Regions from separate parts of the Homo sapiens genome. Here region 1 is linked to region 2. Evidence: promoter capture Hi-C in 16 types of primary human blood cells and fetal thymus (Javierre and others, 2016). All regions are on one chromosome and are shown on one strand. Each heading gives the region's core, a stretch centred on a gene start or on the middle of the fragment in contact. The rest is flanking DNA. Distances are from core to core; before and after follow the strand shown.

What was found. Contacts are between HindIII fragments. The CHiCAGO score rates a contact against its expected background, and 5 or more counts as called.
Region 1: a contact is called between a fragment that was not itself captured here and the fragment with the promoter of TALDO1 in region 2, in 1 of 17 cell types (neutrophils). The highest score is 5.5, in neutrophils.

Annotation. Positions count from the first base shown.
Region 1 is chr11:213,174-216,217 of GRCh38, forward strand. It overlaps RIC8A (RIC8 guanine nucleotide exchange factor A), which reads left to right. Exons shown (of 10, transcript NM_001286134.2): 9 at 126-245; 10 at 1,057-1,940. The coding sequence ends at 1,177. It overlaps SIRT3 (sirtuin 3), which reads right to left. Exons shown (of 7, transcript NM_012239.6): 7 at 1,857-3,044. Among named protein-coding and RNA genes, the nearest start is that of MIR6743, 5.4 kb to the left of the region's middle. The HindIII fragment of the contact is 3,738 bases long and covers 1-3,044 here.
Region 2 is chr11:746,054-749,022 of GRCh38, forward strand. TALDO1 (transaldolase 1) reads left to right here and starts at 1,411. Exons shown (of 8, transcript NM_006755.2): 1 at 1,411-1,525. The coding sequence starts at 1,429. LOC105376509 (a long non-coding RNA gene) reads left to right here. Exons shown (of 3, transcript XR_930962.3): 3 at 696-909. RefSeq lists enhancers at 395-1,043, 682-741, 1,044-1,692 and silencers at 872-1,471, 1,532-1,821, 1,922-2,011. The HindIII fragment of the contact is 13,110 bases long and covers 1-2,969 here.

The DNA of each region.
Region 1 (3,044 bases), core at 122-2,621, 530 kb before region 2:
TTCTGGAGGGAGGCCTCTTCCTGCAGTTGCCTTGCCCACCTCACCCCACTGGGAAAATAGGTGGCTTGCCTCCTGTCCTGGAGAGTCACTAATGCATTCCCCACATTCCACCCACTGGGAAACAGCATAAACCCTGTGACCGGGAGGGTGGAGGAGAAGCCGCCTAACCCTATGGAGGGCATGACAGAGGAGCAGAAGGAGCACGAGGCCATGAAGCTGGTGACCATGTTTGACAAGCTCTCCAGGTGTGTGGCATGAGGAGGAGGGGCCTGCAGCTGGGAGAAGGGAGAGCTGACCCACATCCTGTCTTGTGAGCCCCAGGAGGTAGGATCAGAGGAGAGCTTAGGATCCTGGTATTAGGTTGCATTGCTCACGTTTGAAATCACTTGCCCTGGAGGAAATCCCCCAGGGGATGGGTATATTGAGATCAGTATTGTGCCCCTTTTACAGATGATAACTGAGGCCCAGAGAAATTAAGAGACTGTCTAAGGCCGGGCGTGGTAGCTCACGCCTATAATCCCAGCACTTTGGGAGACTGAGGCAGGTAGATCACAAGGTCAGGAGATCGAGACCATCCTGGCCAACATGGTGAAACCCCATCTCTGCTAAAATACAAAAAAAAAGTTAGCTGGGCGTGGTGGTGGGCGCCTGTAGTCCCAGCTGCTCGGGAGGTTGAGGCAGGGGAATCACTTGAACCCAGGAGGCAGAGCTTGCAGTGAGCTGACATTGTGCCACCGCACTCCAGCCTGGCAACAGAGTGAGACTTCGTCTCAAAAAAAAAAAAGAGACTAATGTCGCCAGATTTATTGGAGATGGCCCAGTGTCCAAATTAAGAGCCTGCTTAAGGCCAATTTAGATGTTTAAAATAGGAAACTGCTTAAAGCCAGGAGGCAGCAGTTAGGGTTTGGGCCCAGTTAACAGAAGGTCCAACCAGGCTTCCCCAGTAAATGGGAGCAGCCTACTTGGTAGAGAGGAAGGTAGCAGCCACGGGTGAGTAGGACCCCTGCCTGGCCAACTGGGCCCCTTCCCCAGCCCCACTGCACCTTTCCCCAACAGGAACAGAGTCATCCAGCCAATGGGGATGAGTCCCCGGGGTCATCTTACGTCCCTGCAGGATGCCATGTGCGAGACTATGGAGCAGCAGCTCTCCTCGGACCCTGACTCGGACCCTGACTGAGGATGGCAGCTCTTCTGCTCCCCCATCAGGACTGGTGCTGCTTCCAGAGACTTCCTTGGGGTTGCAACCTGGGGAAGCCACATCCCACTGGATCCACACCCGCCCCCACTTCTCCATCTTAGAAACCCCTTCTCTTGACTCCCGTTCTGTTCATGATTTGCCTCTGGTCCAGTTTCTCATCTCTGGACTGCAACGGTCTTCTTGTGCTAGAACTCAGGCTCAGCCTCGAATTCCACAGACGAAGTACTTTCTTTTGTCTGCGCCAAGAGGAATGTGTTCAGAAGCTGCTGCCTGAGGGCAGGGCCTACCTGGGCACACAGAAGAGCATATGGGAGGGCAGGGGTTTGGGTGTGGGTGCACACAAAGCAAGCACCATCTGGGATTGGCACACTGGCAGAGCCAGTGTGTTGGGGTATGTGCTGCACTTCCCAGGGAGAAAACCTGTCAGAACTTTCCATACGAGTATATCAGAACACACCCTTCCAAGGTATGTATGCTCTGTTGTTCCTGTCCTGTCTTCACTGAGCGCAGGGCTGGAGGCCTCTTAGACATTCTCCTTGGTCCTCGTTCAGCTGCCCACTGTAGTATCCACAGTGCCCGAGTTCTCGCTGGTTTTGGCAATTAAACCTCCTTCCTACTGGTTTAGACTACACTTACAACAAGGAAAATGCCCCTCGTGTGACCATAGATTGAGATTTATACCACATACCACACATAGCCACAGAAACATCATCTTGAAATAAAGAAGAGTTTTGGACAAAAATGTATGTGTAAATTATCAAATAAAGGGGCCAGGCACAGTGGCTCATGCCTGTAATCCCAGCACTTTGGGAGGCCGAGGTGGGTGGATCACTTGAAGCCAGGAGTTCGAGACCAGCCTGGCCAACATAGCAAAACCTTGTCTCTATTACAAATATGCCCATGTGCTAGGTGTGGTGGGACACACCTGTAATCCCAGCTACCCAGGAGAATCGCTTAAACCCGGGAGGCGGAAGTTGCAGTGAGCTGAGATCATAACACCGCACTCCACCCTGAGTGACAGGGCAAGACTCAAAAAATAAAAAAGGAACATTAACTAGGGTTAGAAACTAACTTCATTCTTTTTAGAATTCAACAGTTTTCCTAGGTCACCAATTCCACCTTTTGTTCTTATTAAGGCGCAAAGTCACAGGACCCCCTTCCTGGGAGTCACTGTCATTAAATCTATTGCCGTCAGCTCAGCCCAGGGTAGGCAAGGTTCAAGAATGGGAAGTGCTTTTGTCTGGGGAAACACGCAGGTAATGTGATGCTAGGAAGGAGGATGTGCAGGTGGGTGAGAGCCCAGGAGGGAGCAGCTGGTGCCTGACAGGGTGAGCCATCAGGGCTGGGCCTGGGTACAGCCCCAGGAGAAGGAGCCTGTGCAGAAGTAGCAGTTCAGTGGATTCCACCTCCTATGTCACAATCCAGCAGGTGGCCAGGACTCAGCCTGGGTTTTAAGTGAGTAATGCCTTCCCTGTCTCAGAGATTAGCTCTAACAGTGTCACTAGAGGAAGCCCTGGCGAGGGTGGGGGGGCGTAGTGTGGGGACAAGGAGGCCAGATAGAAAGTGCTGGAATGTTCTGGAACAGATCTGTTTCTGGAGGAGAGGCTGAGTATGGAGAGTCAACAGAATGTGACCACCTTCAGAGGGAGGAGCTGGGCCGTCTCCAATAAATCCAGGGACAAATGCCTTCAGTCCTCAGACTGTTCCAATAGAGGGGACGCCACGTATCCCAGGGTTCCCTTTCCAACTCATGTCAACACCTGCAGTCCCTTTGAGGAGACTAAATGTATTTCATGCTGGAAAGAACAGATTTTCTCTCATTAAAAATAGCCCCACTAAAGGAGAC
Region 2 (2,969 bases), core at 161-2,660:
CTTTGGCCTTTCAATGTGCTGGGATTCCAGGCCTGAGCCACCGCGTCAGCCTAGGATTTGCCTTTTAAGAAGTCTTTTCCGCCGGGCGCGGTGGCTCACGCCTGGAATCCCAGCACTTTGGGAGACTGAGGTGGGCGGATCACGAGGTCAGGAGATCGAGACCATGCTGGCCAACATGATGAAACCCCGTCTGTACTAAAAATACAAAAATTAGCCGGGCGTGGTGGTGAGCGCCTGTAATTCCAGCTACTCGGGAGGCTGAGGCAGGAAAATCGCTCGAACCCGGGAGGCGGAGGTTGTAGTTAGCCAAGATCGCGCCACTGCACTCCAGCCTGGGCAACAAGGGCGAGATTCCGTCTCAAAAAAAAAAAAAAGTCTTTTCAGGTTTTTGCATTTCTGACAACCGGATGGCCCCACCTGGACCTGCCAACCAGTTGTGTGGCCTCTACCCAGGGACTGACTCAGCATAAGCGGACAGCTTCGACTCCCTGTGATTTCATCCCTAGCTGACCAGTCAGCACTTCTGACTCACTGGCCCCCTACCCACCAAATTATTCTTAAATACTGGGATCCCCGAGTTTTGGGGAGACTGATTTGAGGAATAAAACTCTGGTCTCCCGAACAATCGGCTCTGTGTGAATTATGCTTTCTCTATTGCAATTCCCCTGTCTTGACAATAGACTCTGTCCCGGCAGCTGGCAAGGCGAACCCATGGGGCGGTTACAGTGTCTGCAACGCAGACACAAGCGACAGAGACTTGATCAGAATATACAAGGAACTCTGCAAGTCAGCGATGGTAAGAAGCAGGGCAGCTGGGCCTCCTACGCCTGCCTCGCCGTTCGGTCCCCCGGACACCTCTGGGCTTAGGACTCAGGGGAACAGATTCCCAGAAGCAGGTTCCCCGCCGCGTCCGGCGCCCGGGCTCTGCAGCCGCCCCCTGCTCTGCCTCCTGCACCCGCAGGGCGTCCCCCGCCGCTCCCTCCCCTGCTTCCTGCAGCGGCCCCCGACCCCAGTCCTGGCCCCACCATGGATCCTGCATCGCCGGGTTCGGCCCTGGCGGGTTCAGCCCCGCAGAGTCGGCACCCGGGCCAGGTCCATCTCCTCCAGCCCTCCCGGTGCGTCCCGCGGGGCAGGAAGGAGGCGAGGCCCAGCCGCCCCGTGTCGTGCAGGTGTTTTCCCGGGCCCGTCCGCGGCGGCTGCTGAGGACCTGGGGAGACCCAGCCTGTAGGATCCGCAGCTGCGGTGCGCGGCCGGCAGTGGCGCTCGGGCTTCGTCCCCGGGGGCGGGGCTTCGTCCAGGCGCGCAGGGACCAGCGGGCCTCGCCCTCCCGCGCCGCTTTCCGATTGGCAGCCGCCCGCGGGGCATTGTGGGCCGTCCGCGCGCCCGTCCCGTCGCCGCCGCCGCCGCCGCAGACCCCTCGGTCTTGCTATGTCGAGCTCACCCGTGAAGCGTCAGAGGATGGAGTCCGCGCTGGACCAGCTCAAGCAGTTCACCACCGTGGTGGCCGACACGGGCGACTTCCACGGTGAGGACGGCGCGGAGCCCGGGCGCGGCGCAAGCGCCCTCCAGAGGCCCCGGCGCCCCGATTTCCCCGGGTCTCCCGTTCCGGGACGCGGACCGGGTGGCGGTGCCCCGGGCGGCTCGTTCCGGGAGGAATGAGCGCAGGTGCCGGATGTTGGGGCCAGGGACAGCCGTGAGGGGAGCGGGGCCCGGGTCGGCCGTGAGAGGCGCAGGGCCAGCGGCGACCGTGAGGGGAACGGGGCCCGGGTCGGCCGTGAGGGAGCAGGGCCGGGGGCAGCCGTGAGGAGCTGGGGTCAGCCGTGAGGGGCTCGGTGCTGGGGTCAGCGGTGCGGGCGGTACTGACGGGTCCTTGCGAGCCGTGGGGCACGAAGCCGGAGCCCCAGCCTCGCCCTCCGCCCAGGGTGGGGTCGGCTGCGCCCTCAGACCCCGCACCCGGGACGGGCTGTGGGCAGCCCGCGGGAGCCCCTCTGTGCACCTTCATGGGTCGAGGCAGCTTTCAGAGCCTTTGAGTTCAGGAGAGATTCAGGGTAGAGCTTCGAGCTGACTTCCACGTGGCCAGTTTGTGGTCAGCGAGATGCAATTTTGTTGGGCTGATGTCTGCAGAGCGGGGACATCAGCTAGCTCTGACCAGAAGCTGCCAGTGCTGCCATCGCCCTTGAGCCCTGCGGTGCCCAGTGGGACAACTCCGTGGGCGGCAGGTGCCCGGCCTGCTGGACAGCCACCGCCAGACGCACCGGGTGGGTAAAAGCCGGTGCCCATGAAAGCACAGGGTTGGTACACTGTTAAATACTGGATTTTCCTGGGCTTGAGTTGTTTACATTGGAGAGAACTTGGAAAATACAAAGAAGGATTATTTATTAATACTTAGCTCTTCTGTCCTCTGCAGTGCAGAGTAGACGAGCCTTGTGTCTATGTTTTGTTGAGAACAAGTAATATTTTTTAAGAAAATCATGAAACGCTTCATGGATGAATGCTGCGAGCACCTAATACGGAAGTGACTTCCTCTCTTTTCTGCTTTCTCATGGTGACTTGAGAAACAGGCTTTAATTCCTCTTTGGTAACTGAGTAAGGGCATTGTTTATCTAGCAGAGCCTAGAGAGTGAATTGGCATGTTTGGCTGCTTAACCATAAAATATGGGGATTCAGTGACTGGCTTGGGGTGCCACAGTCTGCTCCGGACCCCTCTTTGGGAGATCCAAAGCTAGAGCTGTGAATCCCTCACACACACAGCCCCCCCGTTGTAGTCCAGACCTCTCTTCATAAGAAAGAAAGCTCCAGAAAAGGGGCTACACATTTTTCTGCTGCTCAGTTTTTTCCCTTCTTAGCACTGAGAATAATTTGCAGTTTGCCTGGTGGACAGAGCGCTCATCTGTATTGTTCCTTACTGGCCCTCACCAGTTAGGGCAGAGCTGGTGCGGAGTGTCAGGTCCATTACACTTGGCAGTGCA